Linked DNA regions of Homo sapiens: all the other regions are linked to region 7. Evidence: promoter capture Hi-C in 16 types of primary human blood cells and fetal thymus (Javierre and others, 2016). All regions are on one chromosome and are shown on one strand. Each heading gives the region's core, a stretch centred on a gene start or on the middle of the fragment in contact. The rest is flanking DNA. Distances are from core to core; before and after follow the strand shown. Region 1 holds the start of PRAG1 (PEAK1 related, kinase-activating pseudokinase 1). Region 2 overlaps PRAG1 (PEAK1 related, kinase-activating pseudokinase 1). Region 3 overlaps VPS37A (VPS37A subunit of ESCRT-I). Region 4 overlaps ZDHHC2 (zDHHC palmitoyltransferase 2). Region 5 has its middle 69 kb from the start of FAM85B. Region 6 overlaps PRAG1 (PEAK1 related, kinase-activating pseudokinase 1). Region 7 holds the start of LONRF1 (LON peptidase N-terminal domain and ring finger 1).

Region 1 (2,700 bases), core at 98-2,597, 4.4 Mb before region 7:
TGCTTATGCCTTATTCTGAAGTGACAGAATTGCAGAAAACATTCACCTAAAATTTTTTTCTGTATGTTACAGTTAAATTAATGCAACGCCAGTAAAAGGAAAGAAATATGTGTGGAAAGTGTCTGAACTTCAGCACACTCCACTGGCCAGGGCTGACCAGGCAGAAAGGAGAAAGTGACAACTTTACCACCCACTAGCCCCCTGCCTCCCTACTCACGCAGAGGGTAAATTACGATATTCACCCAACTTTTCCTTTTCTTTTTTCTTCCTCCAGTGCTGGAGGAAAGAAAATCTCAGAGGGAGGAATGTGGTTTTGCACCCACTACAGTCGAAACCAACCAGACCTCAGGAGAGAAAAATAACTGCGGAATTCCCTAGGGCTTTCTGTCAAATTTTCTTCTCAGAAAGGGAAGGGGAGAGGAGTTGTTAAGAATAGTTCAGGCCAGTGATCAGGAAAGCCTTCTGAGCCTGACTCCGCACTGAATGCATCGCCAAAACTCCTCGCCCCTAGACCATTGGGCTTTGCTATCGGCTCTGCAAAACCATGTGCAGGGAGAGCTTACCTGAGAGAAACGCACACACCGTGAGCTGGCGCTCTCCGCTGCGAATGCCCGGCCGCCTCCATGCCCAGCAGAGGATTCTATGTTCTAAGTGTGTGTGTCCCCGGATACCAGCAAAGGTTAATAACGTGCTCACAGCATGCGTTTCAGAGGGCTCAGCCAGGGCTCGGGGAAAAGGGCATCATCTCGTTGCCTCTGGAGCCCCGCTGCTGCATACCCTGCACCCCCAAACCATCCCCCCGGGTCCTGGTCCCAGCAGCCAGGCGGCCTTCCGTCTCTCCCCCTTGACAATACTCTAGCGGTGGAAAGCAGTCCTCAAAGCGCTTCAGCCTCCGGCCGCAGACAGAGCAGCAAGACCAGAGAAACCATCCTAACAGTCGGTCCTCCCTCCTGGAACTCGTAGGAAAGTTTCCCCGTTTTAAAGAGCGCGATTCTCGAATGAATCAAAAACACCCTCCAGCTCCTCGGTCCTCCCGGCCGGGCGCCTCCCTGCACCTCGGGCACCACCCGGGGCTCACGCGGCCCCGGCACTGCCCACTTCCCGAGCGGTCGCCTGTCACCCCGGGGGTAGCCCGCTCGGCGATCGCAGCGCCCCTCCAAAGCTCCCCTCTGCGACCACGCTCGCCAGACAAAAAGAGGCCGAATTTGGAGAGCGCGTCGCGGGCTCACCTCTGGGCTGCGCTCCCCCGGCCCCTCCGTCGGTCTCCGAGCCGCCAGCCGCCCGGCCGGAGCATTGTTCGCAGAAGGTCTGCGCGCGGTGCGTGCCCGGCCGCGGGCGGGTGGCTTCTGCCTGGGCCCGGCGGCCGGGTGGCAGCTGTGAGCGCGGCTCCGCCCCCTCCGCCTCCGGTGACGCCGCCCGCCCCAGCTCACGCCGCACCTCCGCAGTCCCTGCCGCCGCCCGGCCCCGCCTGGCCCGCGCGCCCCGCCGCCCGGCTTGCGCCTGCCGCTCCCACCCGGCGGTCTCCTACCCCCAGGGCCCCGACTCCTCCAAAGTCTCCAGGCCCCGGGACTCCCTCTCTTGCCCACCCTCCCGCCCCGGACCGGCAGGCTCCGCCCCCAGCCCCAGACTTGGCGCGGGCTGACCCCCGAGCCCAGCACCCGTTTGCACCCCCTCCTCGGTGGGGACCCTGCACAGCTCTGGAGGGGCGAGCTCTGGCGTTGCAATCCTCCTTTTGCCATCATGCGTGTATAGGTGCCCGGCATCACTTCATCCAGCCGGCCCTGCGGGACCCTGGGAAGAGAGGGAGAAGGAAGGGGAAACGAGGAAGTGTGGGGTCGGGAGTGGAATACAGGTCAGGGTCCGAGGCGGGCTCTGAAAGCCACGTGAGCACAGCGAGCCTCAGCTCTCCCTACCTCTGGGAAGAGGGTGGCGCCGGAGGGAGCAGGGCTGGAAGTCCCGGTGGCGGATTCCAGGTTCCGCTCAGTCCCTGGACTGCAGGATTCTGGCAAATTGCTTAACCTCTTTGAACTTTAGTTTTCTGGATGTAGAATGCAAGCGTTGCACTGCAGGGACCTGGCCTTCTACCATGCTGGGACATCCAAGTCTTCCGCAGGCCAGTAATACACCTGTGTTTACACCGTTTCCAGTGAGTCATTCACTGAGATAGAACGAGTTCGAGATAGTCCTCGGGCTAAAAAAATCTTTTCACTGGGAGTATAATAGCTTAAGACCCAGTCAGTCCTGTAGCTTGACCTGGGTGTTTACTCGGGGAGCCAGGGCTATGGTCACCTCCCAGGGCCATGCCGGGTGGGAAGAATTCAGTGAAATGGAATAGGAAGAGGACCCCCCTCCCCCACAAAACAATACCTGCGGCTTCTCTCGCCCTCTATCCCCTCCCCAGGAAGGCAGTTTATTTTGACTCCAGTGAAGGTCCTCTGCCAGTCAGCCTGCGAGCCCCCACCCACTGAGAGGAGGAAGATGGGCCCCCACCCCCACCCCCAGATCCCTGGCTCTCCTCTTTGCTGCTGTGGGTGTGGACAGAGAGGGAAGATGTGTATTTGAGGTTTGGCTTCTGTGTGAGGAAAGGGAAAAAAGGATCCAGGGAATTCTTCCTCATGTTCCAGTGACACCCATGCCTCCTAAGAGGACAGAATCTGGGGGAAGCTGTAGAGGGATGGGAGTGCAATGGACATTCCTTAA
Region 2 (2,700 bases), core at 122-2,621, 4.4 Mb before region 7:
GAAATATACAGTACAGTACTGATTTGGCATCAGAACTGCCTTATTTAATGCGCATGACCTTACGGTCAAGAATTTATTGGCTGTTCTTTGTGTTCAACATTGCCAGGCCCTGTTTTAATTTTCATAGTCACGGGAATCCCCTGTGTATCAACAGGAGGGTTTAAAGTTTGTTCGCTACCACAAAAAGTGCTCCTTGAAAACACGTCCCTCTCCCCACTCCCAACCCTTAGAATCGTACTTTTAAACTGTGTTAAATCTGTCAAAAAAAAAAATGTGACAGTGAAGGCAACATTATGACTAATCTTCATCTTTGTATCTCAGTATCGCTGTGGGAACCTTGGAAATATCAATTCCTTAGGAAATGCTATGGCAGTAGCTGATCCTTGCCTAATCTCCTGGCAAAATAAAATCAGACAGTTTCATACAATATTCTTATATCCACATCAGATCTATCACTAATAGTTTTCTCCAAGGGAAGCCAGGATATGAAGTCATGCATAACAACTCCTCAGTCTAGGAGAGAAGCCAGAGCCAGCTCTGTGGCTATCCCCTACTTTGCCCCTTCCAAAGTGGTTTCTAGAGTTTCTTGGTCTTCAGGCCCAGAAAATCACTAAGGGAGAAACTACAGCACCATGGCTACAGAGCTGGCACAGCTTCCCACTCCACAAACTTCATGAAATGTATGTAAATAGACAAAACCAAAAAATACATAAACATGTGTATGTATGAGCATATATATATATTCATATACATATGCACACACACACACATACTTACTTAAAGTAACAGCCAAGATTAAAAGAAAGAACAATTCTCAGGTGCCAGATACAAAGAGGGAACTCCACACACAGGCAGTACAAGGGATCCTTCAATACTAAGCGTATATTTACTACAGATTTCAGTAGACGCACTTTATCAGGCTAAGGATGTTTATTTCTATTTCAAGTTTTCTAAGGTTTTGTATTTCAAAATCATTTTTGGCTATTAGGGTTTATTAAATGCCTTTTCTACATCTATGGGAAAAAAATCATATCATGTTTCTCCTTTACTCTGTGAATGTGATGAGTTATGTTAATAGCTTTTCTTAATTAAGCCATCCTTGCACATGTTGTATGAACTTATTTTACTACACATTGCTGGATTCAGTTTTACTCATATTTAGTTTAAGATTTTTACATTTACATTCAAATAGAGGCTAGCCCATAATTTTTCTTTCTTGTCCTGTCCTTGTCCAATTTGGATATAAAGGTTAAAATAGAATTATAAAATGACGGCCGGATACGGTGGCTCCCTCCTGTAATCCCAGCACTTTGGGAGGTCAAGGCGGGCAGATCACTTGAGGTAGGGAGTTCGAGACCGGCCTGGCCAACAGGCCAACCCCATCTCTACTAATCATACAAAAATTAGCCAGGCATAGTGGCCTGCGCCTGTAATCCCAGCTACTTGGGAGACTGAGGCAGTAGAATCGCTTGAACCAAGGAGGCGGAGGTTGCAGTGAGCCGAGATGGTGCCATTGCACTCCAGCCTGGGTGACAGAGTGAAACTGTGTCTCAAAAAAAAGAAAAGGAATTATAAAATGAATTGAGTAACTTTCACTTTTTCAATTATCTCATGTAATTTTTTTTTTTTTTTTGAGATGGAGTCTTGCTCTGTTGCCCAGGCTGGAGTGCAGTGGCACCATCTTGGCTCATGCAAGCTACGCCTCCCGGGTTCACGCCATTCTCCTGCCTCAGCCTCCCGAGTAGCTGGGACTACAGGAGGCGCCCACCACCACGCCCCGCTAATTTTTTTGTATTTTTAGTAGAGACGGGGTTTCACCGTGTTAGCCAGGATGGTCTCGACCCCCTGACCTCGTGATCTGCCCGCCTCGGCCTCCCAAAGTACTGGGATTACAGGAGTGAGCCACCGCGCCCGGCCTTATCTCAGGTAATTTTTATAAGAGAAACATTATGTGTTCTCTGAAAGATTGCGAAAACTACCCTGTAAAACCATCAAGGACCAGTTGCTGTATAAATGAGATCAGTAAAGATCTGGTTCTGATAAATCTAGGACCAACATTTCCAGGACACAGACCCAAGAAACAGACTGGAGGATTAACAAGTCAATTCATGGTACTTACACCAGCTATTTATGATGTGAAGAAAAAAAGAAAGTAGAGCCATATCTCATACCGTGTAGAAACACGAATTTTCAACAGAAAAGAAACACCCATTAAATTTTAAATTCATCAGAAAAAATAACGAGAAAACTTTATGAACTTGGGGTAGGAAATAATTTTTAAAATAAGGGCTAAAAAATAGCAATATAAAGAAAAAGATAAATCTGACTACTTTAAAATTTAAAACTTCTGCCTCATAACATAAAAGTCACCATTAAAAAGTGAAAAAAAACAAACCTTGGAGTGGCCAACTCACATCTTTGCAACCCGCATTACTAATAAAGTACTGGTAGGCAGAATAAAAAAGAGTGCCTATAAATCTAAGAAACAGACAAATGACCCCATTTTTAAAATGGAAATGAACAGGCAACTCACAAATGAAACAAGAAAGGCCACTCAACACATGAAAAGATTATTAAAATTATGAATGATCAGATTGTAAATAAAACAAGATTTCATTTCATACCCATCAGATCAGACTGACAACGTCAGATTTTGTTAAAGATATAGGGAAATAGGAACTCTCTCACACTGTTTGTGAG
Region 3 (2,712 bases), core at 46-2,545, 4.5 Mb after region 7:
CTAGAACAATGTACTGAAGCATTTCCTCAATGTTTTCTTCTAGTAGTTCCATAGTTTCAGGTCTTAGATTTAAGTCATTAATCCATTCTTATTTGATTTTTGTGTATGGTAAGAGATAGGGTCTAGTTTCATTCTTCAGCATATAGTTACCCAATTTTCCCAGCACCGTTTATTGAAAACATCATCCTTTCTCCGTTGTATGTTCTTGGTGCTTTTGTTAAGATGAGTTGGCTGTAAATTATATTTGGGTTCCTTGTTTTGCTCCATTGGTCTGTGTGTTTGTTTTTAGGCCAGTAGCATGTGATTTGGTTACTATAACTTTGCAGTAAATTTTGAAGCTGGATAGATAGTGTGATGCCTCCAACCTTGTTCTTTTTGCTCAGAGTTGCTTCAGCTATTCAGGGTCTTGTGAGTCCATATAAATATTAGGATTATGAACAGTGAAAACACATGGATACAGGGAGGGGAACATCACACACCGGGGCCTGTCAGGGGGCGTTAGGGGAGGGATAGCATTAGGAGAAATACCTAATGTAGGTGACGGGTTGATGGGTGCAGCAAACCACCATGGCACGTGTATACCTATGTAACAAAACTGCACATTCTGCACATGTACTCCAGAACCTAAAGTATAATTTGTAAAAAAATTGTGATTGTTTCTATTTCTGTGAAGAATGTCATTGGTATTTTGCTAGGGATTGCTCCAAATCTGTAATTTGCTTTGGGTAGTATTGTCATTTTAATAGTATTTATTCCTCCAGCCACAAGCATGGAATATGTTTCCATTTTTTTTGTACATGTCCTCTTCAATTTCTTTCATCAGTGTTCTATAGTTTTCCTTGTTTAGATGTTTCACTTCTTAGGTAAAATTGTTTGCTAGGTATTTTATATTCTTTGTAACTATTGTAACTAGGATTACTTTTTTCTTTAGATTGTTTATTGTTAGCATATGTAAATGCCACTAATTTTTGTATGTTAATTTTGTATCCTGCAACTTTACTGAATTGGTTTATCATTTCTAACAGGTTTTTTGTTTGTCTGTTTTTTTGGTGGGGTCTTTAGGTTTTTCCAGTCGTAACATTGTGTCATCCGCGAACAAGGCTAATTTAACTTCTCTTTTCCATTTTAGATGCTGTTTATTTCTATCTCTTGCCTAATTGCTCTGGCCAAGACTTCCACTATTATATTGGATAAAAGTTTGAAAGTGGGCATGCTTGTCTTATTCTAGATCTTAGAGGAAAGGCCTTCAGTTTTTCCACATTCACTATAATGTCAACTGTGGTTTGTTATATATGGCCTTTATTATTTTGATGTATATTCCTTCTATACCCAGTTCGATGAGGGTTGTAATCACAAAGGATTTTATTGAGTGCTTTTTCAGCATCTGTTGAAACAATCATTTGTTTTTTGTTCTTGGTTCTCTTAATGGATATATCACATTTATTGATTTGCATATATATTGCACTGTCCTTGCATTCCTGGGGTAATACCACCTGATAATGGTGAATGATCTTTTTTAATGTTTTGTCGAATTTGGTTTGCTAGTATTTTGTTCAGGAGTTTTGTATGTATGTTAATCTGTAATATTGGCCTGTAGTTTTCTTTTTTCTTGTTTCTATGGGTGATGCTGATCTTGTAGAATGAGTTTGGAAGTAGTCCTTCTTCAATTTTTTTGAAGCATGAGTAGAATTGTTATTAGTTCTTTAAGTGTTTGGTAGAATTCACCAGCGAAGCTATCAGGTCCTCAGCTTTTCTTTGATGTGAGACTTTTTATTATGGCTTTAATCTCATTATTATTGGCTTATTGAAGTTTTCTATTTTATCATGGTTTAATCTTAGTAGGTTGTATATGTCCGGCAATTTGTTCCTTTCTTTTAGGCTTTCCAGTTTTTTAGCATATAATTCATAGTGGTGCCTAATGATTCTTTATAGTTCTGTGGTCTCAGTTGTCACATCTTCTTTTTCATTGTGACTTCATTTATTTGGGTCTTCTCTCCTAGTTCATCTAGCTAAAGGCTTGATGATTTTATCTTTTCAAATAACCAACTTTTCATTTTCTTGATCTTTTGTATTTTTGGTCTCAACTTCATTGATTTCTGCTCTGATATTTATATTTTTTCTCCTTTTAGGTTTGGTTCTTCTCTAGTTCATCAAAGTGCATAATTGGGTTGTTTATTTGAAGTCTTTTTACTTTTTTGATACAGTCATTTATTGCTATAAACTTTCTTCTTTGTATCACTTTTGCTTTATCCCATAGATTTTGGTGTGTTCTATTTCCATTTTCATCTGTTTGAAGACTTTTTAAAATTTACTTTTTAATTTCTTTGTCACCCCATTGGCTGTTCAGTAGCATGTTTAATTTCCACGTGGTTGTGTAGTTTCTGAAGTTCCTCTTGTTATTGTTTTCTAGTTTTATTGCATTGTGGTCAGAAAACATACTTGATGTAATTTCTGATTTCTTTGAGTTTGTTCAGACTTGTTTTCTGGCCTAAGATATGTTCTGTTCTGGAGAATGTTCCATGTGCTGATGAAAAGAACATATTCTGCAGCAATTGAGTGCAGTGTTCTGTAAATGTCAATTAGGCCTATTAGGTCCAAAGTGAAGTTTAACTTTGGTGTTTCTTTATTGATTTTCTGTCTGGATGATCTTTGCATTACTGATAGTAGAGTGAAAGTCCCCTATAGTTAACGTATTGCAATCTGTCTTTCTCT
Region 4 (2,700 bases), core at 108-2,607, 4.4 Mb after region 7:
GAAGGGCTGAGCTGGGCCCGGCCCCGAGCTGCGCCAGACCCGCGCGGGGGTGCTGGCCTTGGCGGCGGAGCTGGATCCCTTGCTGGTTGGCGTCAATGCACTTGTTAAAAATTTGTGACAGCGCTCAGGGGCGTTTTTGCTGCCTTTATGATTTGAGGATTGCCAGTTGGACACTTTTCTAGTTTAAAAGGATGTGGAGGAGGTGAGCTACTAGAAAGTATTTTTGAGGACATGTGCAACACACTAAACCATAATTTAGGTGTTTGAACAGTAGGGAGAGAAAAAAAGAGGTGATCGTCTGAGGTTTTTACATCCAGAGAGCGAAGTGGCTCCAGTCCGAGTTCGAGGTTCCTGAATTGGTGGGTAGGATACTTTTAATGCTGAAGATTAAAATTTTTTAAAAAGTTGATTATTATGCACAAGTAGGGAGTACAATGATGTCGCTTAATGTAAGCTGGTTTCTACCTTCAGGGGTTTTATGAAAACTGATCTGGGTTATCAGAAAAAGATGTTAAAACAGAAAATGACCTTTCTGCCAGTGACTTGTGAATGCTTTCTGTGTTTGGTGCTCCACCTAACAAAGTGTCTGTTTTTGCCCTACCAAGTGCTAGCTTTGGGTGGGACGAGGGAAAAGATGAAATAGTGGCCTATTATATTGAGCCTTCACAAGCTCAGCATTTTCAAAGCCTCAAGATTCAGACATAAAATCTTGTCTGAAGCCATCTTACCTCAAAATGTTGCGCCTTGTGAGAAAGTGTCATAATAATACATCAAAATAATCACTGATGTAAGTTGTAAGAGAACCGAGACTTTTATTTCATATAGTTTTAAAATTTGCTGTTATTACTTGAAGGGATTTAGAAACAAGCTTAATAGTCCAAAAAAAAAACCTTGAGTCTGTTGTTGGGAAAAGATGAGGCTGTACAGGCATTATCATGAGGATGCATTTAGGTATGCAGTCGTCAAGTCATCTAAAATATATAGGAAAGGACGTGTAGTAAATTTTGTATTAACTGTTAATCTTAAAATAGCTTGCCTTATTGAGATAGACTGTATATGTTACGTAACTGTTGGGAACCTTTGTTGTGTTTCATTCCTTCGTCCTCTTAAAAACAGTGACCAGTATCGATTAATATAACCTGCAAAGAAGGGACATCCTAGAAGGCCTTCATTATCAAAATAGCCTATTCTCCTGTATTATCACATTAAGCTAAGACGCTTATCTTGGTACAGTGTCTCCTGTCCATTAAGAGGAAGCATTTGAAGGCAGAGAGAGCTCTTCTGCCCGTTAGAAGGATGTCTGCTCCTAGCTGAGGTGCTATATGGCAGATCTTATTATTGTATTGGGTAGACAGGTGATGGGGAAGGAACTAAATGGAAAATTGGTATTATATCTGAATCGTATGTTTATATGTACTTTCTGTAAGTTTAAGACAAATCTAGAGTATCCATAAAATCCGCATCAGTATTTTAGTAAGTGACGATTTGACTAAGAGGAAGAATGCCTCTTTTTAAACTGCCTAAGTGGCGTGGCCTGTTATTGATACCTTATCTATCACTTCTTGTCCCTGCCTGCCTGGCGCAATGCCTGTCTGCCTGGCGTAATGCCTGTCTGCCTGGCCTGGCGCAATGCCTGCCACATTGAAAACAACAGTAAGTGGTCTTGAATAAACAAATAAATGATTCAGAGGCACTATCTCCTAGGTTTTCAGAAAGTAGCTTTTATATTTTTATTGCTGTAGAAACAAAAAGTAATTGTTATGAAAGATCTAGATTCTAGAGTCTAAGAAGGAAGAACAAGTTGAAGCTGAATTTGATTCTAGAGACCATGGCAGTTTATGAGTGGCAAGCTTTGCATAGCCTTGGTCGAGTGGGAAGTTGAAATTTCCTTATAGGCACTGGGAAAGATGGCGACTAGTGTGACTGACACACAAAACCAGACTCCCAGACTCCTTTCCTTTTCACAGACAAAGCAAATGGAAATACCAGCCCCCACCCTACCCCCAGTATTAATCACATCTCAGACTGCCCTGCCCTTTGAAGATTCTTTTTCTCTTGGAAGTTGCCATTTACAAGCAGATTTTCCAAATTTCTTCCATAAAACATTGGCCAAGGTTGGGACCAGAGTGTGGGGGTCGAGGGCTGGGAACTGGATCAGGTAGCAAATGGAATAGAAGAAACAAGGTGATTTACCCTGGTCCTCCTTCCACATCTGCTCTCAGCTAGGGATGACCCTGAATATAAATTATTCTGTGCCCTTTGCTGAATGAACTGCAATTTAGGAGTAGTGCTTATCCTGGTATCCTTGGAAACTGGAGATAATGATTCTCATTACAGTTAGTTTCTATATTTAACAACGTGGATGTATGTGGCTCTCTAGGCACTTTTTCAGTTAGCATAATTTTTGCTTAGTGTTTGTATTTTATAAAAATAACCTCTCTTTTTGGAATATGTGTATATGTAAAATATATGGGATGTACATATATTGTGTGAGAGTCAAGTATTTTTGGTTAAGTCAGCTTCCTATTCTGCCAAAGAAAAGATCACAAAAGACAGTTATACTTCTAATCATTTGGACCACGTTTATCTCGTTTGTTGATTAACGAGGCTCTTCTATTTGTATTCCTCCCCCTCCATCCTTTCCTTCTCTTACCACTCCTTTTCCCTCTCCCCTGTCCCTCCTGTCCCTCTCTCCACTCC
Region 5 (2,700 bases), core at 80-2,579, 4.5 Mb before region 7:
AAAATAAAATTAAAAATAAGGTAACATTTGAACAAAAAGCAGTAACTGTGAGAATCAAAGGACAGCAAGGCCAGCTGATGTCCCCGCCTGCTGCAGGCCTGTTTCCCCACCTCTGGGCGCTCTCCTGGATGATCTACCCTGTTCACAGCAGTGGCTTTAGAACCCTGGGCACCATGCCAGGGCTCCAGGCAGCCTCACTGTTCAGCTGCAGTGTGGGACCCCCACAGCCTCACCTTGGCCTGTGGCCTCAGGTCCATGGCCCTGGAGCCCACTTAGGAAGGGCTGTGCCACCTGTGTGGAAACTACTGGTTTTTGGGTCACAAACCATATTCCACCATCAGGGTCACCATCATCTTCTCTCAGCTGCCAGTCTTCTCTTTGGACGTACCTCAAAGGAAAGGTGAGATCAAAGAAAACAAAATGGAATAAAATAAAATAAATGGAAGTGCTGAGCCATCAGTGCCATTTCTGAGCAAGCACCTTTTTTTTTTAGTTCTAACCCATTCTGTTGAGAAAATGTGACTCTGCAAAGACTGGAGAGTGAGATCTCTGGAAAGTGCTTCCCGTGCAAAACTCCCATTTTTCATGTCTCTGAATCAATATTTGTAGATTGACCCCATGTGCCGGGGCGAGACACTGCCTCCCGTTGTTCACCTCTGATCGGATGCTCCCTTCCTTATGGAGGCTGCTGGTGCAGGTAAGGGCTTCCTCTCACTTGCTCCCAAGGAGCCCAGAAAGAGTGATCCCATCATGGAGCAGCAGAAAGTTTCCATTTGTTTGAAGAGGAGAATATGCTGGACTCGCTGGATGAAGCCTTGAGCCGAGAGTCCTGCCCTGTGCCCTGGAGCGGAGCTGAGTGACTCACCCCCTGTTCTCTGCTGGGAGTGGAGGGTCCATGCGGCTTTCCTCCCTTTCTTTCACCTGGTGTGCAGTTTTACTCACGGCTTCTCTCCTATCCTCTGACTCATTGACCTTGATAGGGAGGGAGGGTTACCTGGAGGCATTCCAGGAGGCTGACTTCAGCAGTCACCTCCGCCCTGGGCCGCAGGGGCACTGGGGACACCAGTGCGTGACTGCTCCCGGCTTGCTGCTTTCCTTCTCACATCCACTTTCTAAGGGTAGGCAGTTTTCCTAGGAACTCAGCAAGTCATACCTTCTCAGAGACTTCTGCAGAGCAGCAAGACAAAGCTTACTCAGAGGCGCCCACAGACCAGGAAGGGTGAGTCACCGGAGCAAGGCTATGGGGATCCTGATCCACTGTTTGCGTCCTCTGTAGAGCAACAGGACATTTTCTTATTCCCAGGCCCCTGTGTGCTGAAAACGGGCCGCCAAAGGAGCCTCTGCCTTCAGCCAGGCTTGGAAGAACACCAGGAAAGCAAAAGGTGGTGGTGGGGACCTTCTCCATGTTTATGGGTCTATGCTGAAAATCCCAGTACAGATATGAGGAAAGAGCCCTCTTATGGGCAATGGAAAAGCTTAGATTGGTTCAAATAACACAGTGAAGCCTACTGATTTAAGATGATGCTTTGAATAGAACACTTAAAATTTAGGTCTTTCCTTAGCCTCTGAGTTGTATAAACCACATGATGTGGGGACTTTGATGTCCTCCAGTTTCTTTCTGATTTGAAATGGAGCTAATGCTATCTCCTGCCACCTCCCAGAAGGACACAGAGGAAATATAAACATTGACGTGGTGGTGGCATCTTAGTAAAAAAAAAATCACGAGGGTTCAGTTTGCTAAAGCAAGACTTGGAATGACCTGATAAATGGCCAGGAAAGACCAACTGTGGGAAATAAATTCCTCTCCAGACTTTAGCTGTTGGGGTTAGGATTTCCAGTTCATAGCTTTACTTAGGAAGGTGAGCAGGCTCAGAAAATGCACAGACCCCTTTGAGGGCTGAGCACCCAGACAGGGCGGCTGGCTCAGCTGGATAATTCCTCTGGATTAGGGGAACTCTGGGGGAGGGATTTTAATAAGCGGAAATGTCTCCCCACTCATGGAATAATGGGTTGAGACAAAGAGCAGCTGGAAATCAAGAGAAGGCCAAAGAGGGCGAGAGAGAAAGATAATGTGAGAAGAGGAAAGAAGAAAGGACCGCTAGCTACAGCAGAGGGTTCATTCTCAGGGGAAAACTCATGCTAAAATTCAAGAAAACCTCTCCTAAAGTAAGCTGTTTGGCGATCTTGAGAAAGGCTTAGCCTCTGGAAGCAAAGTGTTAGCTAAATACAAAGACTTGATATAGTCTGGATGTTTGTCCAAGCCTCAAGTTGAAATTTGATCTCCAATGTTGGACGTGGGGTCTAACGGGAGGTGCTGAGTCCTGGGGCAGATCCCTCATGAACAGATTCATAACCTCCCTGTAGGGGGTTGTGAGTGAGTTCTCTATTAGTTCCTGCAAGAACTGGTTGTTTAAAAGAGCCTGGCGCTTCCTCTCTCTCTTTTCTTCCCTCTCCATGTGATTTCTGCACCCGCTGGCTCCCCTCCAACTTCCACCAAGAGTGGAAGCAACCTGAGACCCTCACCGATGCAGATGCCCAAACTTGGACTTTTTCAGACACCAGCATTGTAAGCCAAATAAACATGTTTCTCTATCTAAATTACCCAGTCTCAGGCCTCCCTTCAGAGCAATACTAAATAGACTGAGATAACCCGATATATATTTCAGAAGGATGGTGGTAAGAAGAACATGACAGAGACTC
Region 6 (2,761 bases), core at 199-2,698, 4.4 Mb before region 7:
GAAATGGACCCCTCCTCTCAGTCAAGGGCATTCCAAAGTGAACATAAAAAAATGAGTTCAGGCCATGATGGGAAGGGGGCGCTGGACATGCCTCATGCTACCCTCCTCCCTGTTGGGATTACTGATAGGGCAGTCTCTTCAAGTCTGATAAAAATATTTACAATGTGTTCTCACTCAAGCCTGCTACCTGGAGGCTTCGTCTGCATGATAAAGTCTTGGTCTCCATAACCCCTTCTCATAATCCAGACATTCCTTTCTATTGATAATAACTCTCTCAACCAAGTGCCAATCAGAAAATCTTTGAATCCACCGACGACTTGGAAGCTCCCCCGGCCCCCTCAACTTCAATGTACATCATACATGTATTGATTGATAACTGTGTCTCCCTAAAATGTACAAAACCAAGTTGTGGCCTGACCACTTTGGGAACATGGTCTCAGGATCTCCTGAGGGCTGTGTCATGGGCCATAGGTGACTTATATTTGGCTCAGAATAAATCTAATATTTTACAGAGTTGGACTCTTTTCATTAACAAACAAAAAGCACACAAATGTGAAAAACAAGACACTAAATAGACTGCAAAAAATGACCCTGGCTTCCAGGATGAGGGCTGAAACAAGATGGGAGACTGTCGCCTCATTCCCCTTCAGCTGGAAACATGCACATTGGGTGATATGGTTTGGCTGTGTCCCCAAACGAATCTCATCTTGTAGTTCTCATAATCCCCACGTGTGGTGGGAGGAACCTGGTGATGTTCTCATGATAGTGAGTGAGTTCTCATGAGATCTGATGGCTTTATAAGGGGTTTTCTTTTCCCTCCCTTTTTTTTTTTTTTTGAGATAGAGTCTTGCTCTGTTGCCCAGGCTGGAGTGCAGTGGCGCATCTTGGCTCACTGCAATCTCCACCTCCTGGCTTCAAGTGATTCTCCTGCCTCAGCCTCCCAAGTGGCTGGGATTACAGGTGCCTACCACCACACCTGACTAATTTTTGTATTGTTCATTTTTTAGTAGAGATGAAGTTTCACCATGTTGGCCAGGCTGGTCTTGAACTCCTGACCTCGTGATCTACCTGCCTTGGCCTCCCAAAGTGCTGGAATTACAGGCATGAGCCACTGCACCTGGCTGCTTTTGCCCCTTTTGCTTGGCTTCTCCTTGCTGCCACCATGTGAAGAAGGACGTGTTTGCTTCCCCTTTCACCATGATTGTAAGTTTCCTGAGGCTTCCCCAGCCATGCTGAACTGTGAGTCAATTAAATCTCTTTCCCTTGTAAATTACCCAGTCTCAGGTATGTCTTTATTAGCATCGTGAGAACTAAACATCAGGTGACTCAAATTTTTCCTTCCCTTACACGTATCCAGAAATCACTGGAAAGCGCTTCGAGTATTGATTTTGGAATTACACATAAATTTGAGCGGGTAGATGATTTTGCAAATACAGAATCCATAAATAATGAAGATGGACGGTATTTATCTCAAAGCATGTTTTCTCCTCTGAATGACAGGGGCAGGGATAGTCCTTCCTCGTAGGGCCATTGTGAGGATCAGATGAAATGATGCAGGCATGGCTCTCAGCGCCAGGCCCAGCCCAGGGCAAGCACAATGGGGAAGGTTGCTATGGTGACTGCTCTTGCCATCTCGGCTGTAGCCCTCTGGTGATGCGGAGGCATCCAGAGCTGGCCTGCAGGTATTGTGCAAACCCGAAGAGCACAGCTGCCCAGGGGCCTGGGAAGAGTTTCCAAGGCTCCTTTTTCTCAGGGGTATGAAAAGCCTGGGCCCAGCAAACACTTGAGGCCTGGAGCTCCAGTCAGGCTGCTGACATTTTGCACAGAGATGTAAATGAAGGAGCAGAGTAAATGGCAACTGGGCTGGATGCATTTCAAAATCAGTGCACTGGGCCTTTGGCAAGACCCGCAGCTTCCTCAAAGGCCAGCAACGGAGAAGGCTGCGTTGGGCGCATGCTAACTAGCCCTGTGAGTGAGCTGTAGGCCCGCGCCGGAGATCATTCCACAGCACTGGGTGGGGGAAGGGGCGGTGGGGGAGGGAGTGGCTTTTTCTCCATCTCCATCTCCCTACTCCCTGCCCCCAACCAACCTCATTTCATTTTCAGGGGGCCCTGCACTCGGATTTTTAGCTCTAGAACTTTACATAGACTCTTGGTTCAGCTCAAGTTTCTAACGTTTTGCTGAGCCAGGACTCATTTAAACTTTGGAGTCAGGGCCTCATTCACGGGCGAAAGTCTGGGCTAAATCATGTCTGTTAAATAAAAAAGGCCCAGCAGCTTAAAACGGGGCCCTAATTACCAAACTAGAATTCTGTCTAGATGGCTGAGAAATGAAACTGCTTCGAAGACGCACACACAACTAATGATTTTTTTTTTCCTGTCACCTATTCATGCGGTGGAGCTACAAGAACCAGCTTTATCTCCTCACTGCTGCAGGGCGCTGAGCCCAAAGTAGTAGGTTCCAGCATCAGCAAGGAGCAGGTGTGAGCCTGCTATTGTTAACTAGGACTCCGCGACCGCAAACGAGGCTCCGTCTGCCTTCAGTGCCGGCTCCCTGTTTAACATGTGCAGATAAAATGCGCTCAGCCTCAGACAGGCAGCTCGCTGGCTGGGAAGGGAGACCCACTCCCCCTCCTGCGGATCCCCAGATGACTGTATTTCGTCTAGACTGGAGAGCTAATGAAGTGGAACAGCTGCCCGTGCGAAATGATGCTCCAGGGCCCCCACGGCCCGCCCCCCCAATGACCAGGCCAGGCACATTT
Region 7 (2,700 bases), core at 78-2,577:
GTGGGTGAGGAAGGGAGACGCCGCCTGCCCGGCCTAGTTGCCCTCGCGGGGGATTCTCTCCCCGCCCCGGCAGTCGTTTCCCCGCGGCGGGCCCGGCCCGAGAGCCAATTCCCGGAAAGCGCGCGGCAGGAAGCGAGCGGCCGCTCGGGATAGCCCAGCTACCACCCATCCCGCGCCGGGGCGGCCTCGGTCCAGGTCACCCACTCCGCGCCGGGAGCGCGCGCCCGACAGCCAGGCCGCGGCCGAGGGAACCCCGCGCCGAGCGCCCCTCCCCGCGCCGCGTCACAGTCGGCTCCCAGGGCGATCCCCATTATGACCGAAGCACCCCGGGGCGCCGCCCCCTCCCACACCCCCCAGCACCCCGAGACCCGACACGCCAGCGGCCCAGCGGCCCCGGGGAAGCAGAGGAGACTCTCGGGGCGCAGACAAGCTCCGGGTCCCCGGCCCTCGGGGCCAGGAGGGTGCGGTCGGCCCGGCCCCGCCGCATCCCCGCGCGGTCACCTGCTCGCAGCGCCTCGCAGGCGGCGGCCAGGGCCTCCCGGTAGCGCCCCTGGTGCAGTAGCTCCCCGAGCCTGCCGGCCGCCCGGGCCCGCTCGCGCTGGCCCGGAAACCACTTCTCGGCCAGGTGGTTGAGGACGACGCTGGTTCTGAAGTCTGAAGCGGCGATGGCGGCGGCCAGAGGCGGCGGCCGCGGGGCGGTCCCTTCAGCATCAGTGGCACTGGCGGTGGCGGGCGGCAGCCGGTCCCGGCAGAGGCGGCAGCGGGCGCGGAGTTCCCTCCGCAGGCAGCGGCGGCAGTAGCTGTGGCCACAGGGCACGGTCACCGGCTCGCTCAGGAAGCCCCGGCAGCCCAGGCATCTGAGGAGCCCGCCGGCGCCGCCGTCAGCGCCTGCAACCGGGGCCGCGCTCCAGCCCAGCCCGTGGCGGAGCCGGTAGTTGAACACCAGGCAGTCCACCAGGGCGCCCAGGCACTCGGGCCTGGCCGGGGCCCCGCGGCGCAGCGCCGCCGCGAACGCCTCCAGCGCGCCCTTCAGGTGGCCGCCCAGCGCCAGCAGCTCCCCGCGGCGGAGCAGCAGCTCCCAGCGCTCCGACTCCGCGGCCGCGCGCTCCAGCCGATGGCCGCTGCCGCCGCCCACTTCCCAGAACCGGCCTCGGCCCTGCGGCGCTGGGGCCATCTCCCGACTCCCTCCTGGGGAGGTCCTCGCCACCGCCGGAGAGGACATGGCCCGCGGAGGGCTGCGCCGCCGCCGCCCGCCGCCACGGTCCCGGAGCCTCCCGGGCGCGCGGCTCCGCACGCGGCCCGCGAGCAGGGGGGCGTGGCGCGCGGACACGGCGGGGCTGCGCGCGCCCGGGAAGCCCCGAGGGCGGGGCCTGGCGAGGGCGGGGCCGGGCTCGGCGACGGCGCCCGGGACTCCCCCACGCCGCCCGCGGCCGCGCTCCCGAGGAGCCAAGCGCTGGGCCCCGCCCCTTCCGAGCCCCCTCCGGGTGGGGGACGCAGGTCGGATGATTCCTCCGTCGGAGATCTAATTGGCTTCTCCGGAAAGGAGGGCTCGGCTCGTGACGGAACAAAGCCGGAAGGACCCCGGAGCTTCAGTCCCCGCTTGCCTGTCTGCCAACGCCGCCACCTGCGGTGGCCCTCGCCCCTGCCGGGGGTTGGGGGACGCTCCCCTGCCGCGCGGGACTCCGGGTCACCACCCCTCCCCCGACGCCCCCGCCCAGGCCGGACCTGCCCCAACTCCTGGCGGGCGGGGGTCTCCCCGCGTGGCCTCGCGCTTGTGCGGGTCTGCATTTTCATAGCTCTACGCCCATGTTCCAGGTGGGCGCGCCCAAGCAGGGGGCCTGGGAGCGCACCTTCGGCAGATGACTGGGACTCTTCGGTTCTAGAGGACTCAACTTTAAATATGAACAAAAAACCCACGTTCCTGGGGCGACTCCCTCCAGAGGGCAAGGAGTTTTTCCTGGTGCCAGGTGACTGCTTGCCCGTCTTGCTTAAAACTCATCGTGGGCCCACCTCGAGGGAGAAAGCCCACAGCTTCCTCAGGTGTCTCCACACCTCAAGCACTGCCTTACAGCTGGTTAAGGTCTATATTTGGCAGTTTTAAAAGAAAACACCAAGAAACATGTTTCACATGGCGGTCACCGTATTACTACAACCCAAGCTGGCTCTGCAGTTTTGCTGACAGAAGAAAATGATCGGGTTGATATATAATGGGTGCTATTTCCCTTAAACTTCACAGCAGCAAGTTTAAAGCTCTCAGCTGAAAATACAGATTTGATGATAGGGTATTAGATCGCTAATGTTGGAAGTCACTTAGGACTTTTAGTCCTTTTTCAAATGATTGGAAACACAGGGAAAGTTATTTGTCAAAAATCACACAGCTAATACAGATTTTAAGATCACGTCTATTCCACTACTACTACGTTAGACTAATATGTAATATTTAATAAAATATGTAATATTTCATAGAAATATATGAGATTTTCAAAGTAAAAGAAGTTGCTAATTGGAAAGTTCACCTGAGCATGCTATGTATGAAATTGGTAAACGTTTAATATTTCTCTTTATAAGGAACAGGCAATTAAGGCTAAAAAATGTTTTGAGTTCATGTGTTTTCACTACACAATCAACAAGTCGTGTAACGTCAGAAAAGACAGAGTTATATTACCCTAAAGGGAATGAATAAAAAAGAGGTGCCTGAGA

The links. The method cuts DNA at HindIII sites, captures the fragments that hold promoters and counts their contacts. A CHiCAGO score of 5 or more calls a contact.
Region 1: the fragment with the promoter of PRAG1 here is called in contact with the fragment with the promoter of LONRF1 in region 7 in 1 of 17 cell types (naive CD8 T cells); the score reaches 9.3 in naive CD8 T cells.
Region 2: a contact is called between a fragment that was not itself captured here and the fragment with the promoter of LONRF1 in region 7, in 1 of 17 cell types (naive CD8 T cells). The highest score is 13.4, in naive CD8 T cells.
Region 3: a contact is called between a fragment that was not itself captured here and the fragment with the promoter of LONRF1 in region 7, in 1 of 17 cell types (neutrophils). The highest score is 7.6, in neutrophils.
Region 4: a contact is called between a fragment that was not itself captured here and the fragment with the promoter of LONRF1 in region 7, in 4 of 17 cell types (total CD8 T cells, non-activated CD4 T cells, naive CD8 T cells and 1 more). The highest score is 10.3, in total CD8 T cells.
Region 5: a fragment that was not itself captured here is called in contact with the fragment with the promoter of LONRF1 in region 7 in 1 of 17 cell types (M1 macrophages); the score reaches 7.0 in M1 macrophages.
Region 6: a contact is called between a fragment that was not itself captured here and the fragment with the promoter of LONRF1 in region 7, in 1 of 17 cell types (naive CD8 T cells). The highest score is 6.8, in naive CD8 T cells.

Annotation. Positions count from the first base shown.
Region 1 is chr8:8,385,092-8,387,791 of GRCh38, forward strand. It overlaps PRAG1 (PEAK1 related, kinase-activating pseudokinase 1), which reads right to left and starts at 1,348. Exons shown (of 6, transcript NM_001080826.3): 1 at 1,230-1,348. RefSeq lists a silencer at 1,051-1,730. The HindIII fragment of the contact is 9,968 bases long and covers 1-2,700 here.
Region 2 is chr8:8,340,579-8,343,278 of GRCh38, forward strand. The region is part of intron 3 of PRAG1 (PEAK1 related, kinase-activating pseudokinase 1); the gene reads right to left. Among named protein-coding and RNA genes, the nearest start is that of PRAG1, 45 kb to the right of the region's middle. The HindIII fragment of the contact is 3,665 bases long and covers 1-2,700 here.
Region 3 is chr8:17,257,000-17,259,711 of GRCh38, forward strand. All of the region lies in intron 1 of VPS37A (VPS37A subunit of ESCRT-I), which reads left to right. Among named protein-coding and RNA genes, the nearest start is that of VPS37A, 11 kb to the left of the region's middle. The HindIII fragment of the contact is 5,442 bases long and covers 1-2,712 here.
Region 4 is chr8:17,157,215-17,159,914 of GRCh38, forward strand. All of the region lies in intron 1 of ZDHHC2 (zDHHC palmitoyltransferase 2), which reads left to right. Among named protein-coding and RNA genes, the nearest start is that of ZDHHC2, 2.1 kb to the left of the region's middle. RefSeq lists a silencer at 1-86. The HindIII fragment of the contact is 982 bases long and covers 867-1,848 here.
Region 5 is chr8:8,295,281-8,297,980 of GRCh38, forward strand. No RefSeq gene overlaps it. Among named protein-coding and RNA genes, the nearest start is that of FAM85B, 69 kb to the left of the region's middle. RefSeq lists enhancers at 1-618, 287-1,486, 619-1,530. The HindIII fragment of the contact is 287 bases long and covers 1,187-1,473 here.
Region 6 is chr8:8,322,501-8,325,261 of GRCh38, forward strand. All of the region lies in intron 5 of PRAG1 (PEAK1 related, kinase-activating pseudokinase 1), which reads right to left. Among named protein-coding and RNA genes, the nearest start is that of PRAG1, 63 kb to the right of the region's middle. The HindIII fragment of the contact is 6,195 bases long and covers 1-2,761 here.
Region 7 is chr8:12,754,199-12,756,898 of GRCh38, forward strand. It overlaps LONRF1 (LON peptidase N-terminal domain and ring finger 1), which reads right to left and starts at 1,328. Exons shown (of 12, transcript NM_152271.5): 1 at 502-1,328. The coding sequence starts at 1,222. RefSeq lists silencers at 1-56, 107-646, 543-733, 737-1,076, 1,157-1,826 and an enhancer at 802-1,621. The HindIII fragment of the contact is 11,195 bases long and covers 1-2,700 here.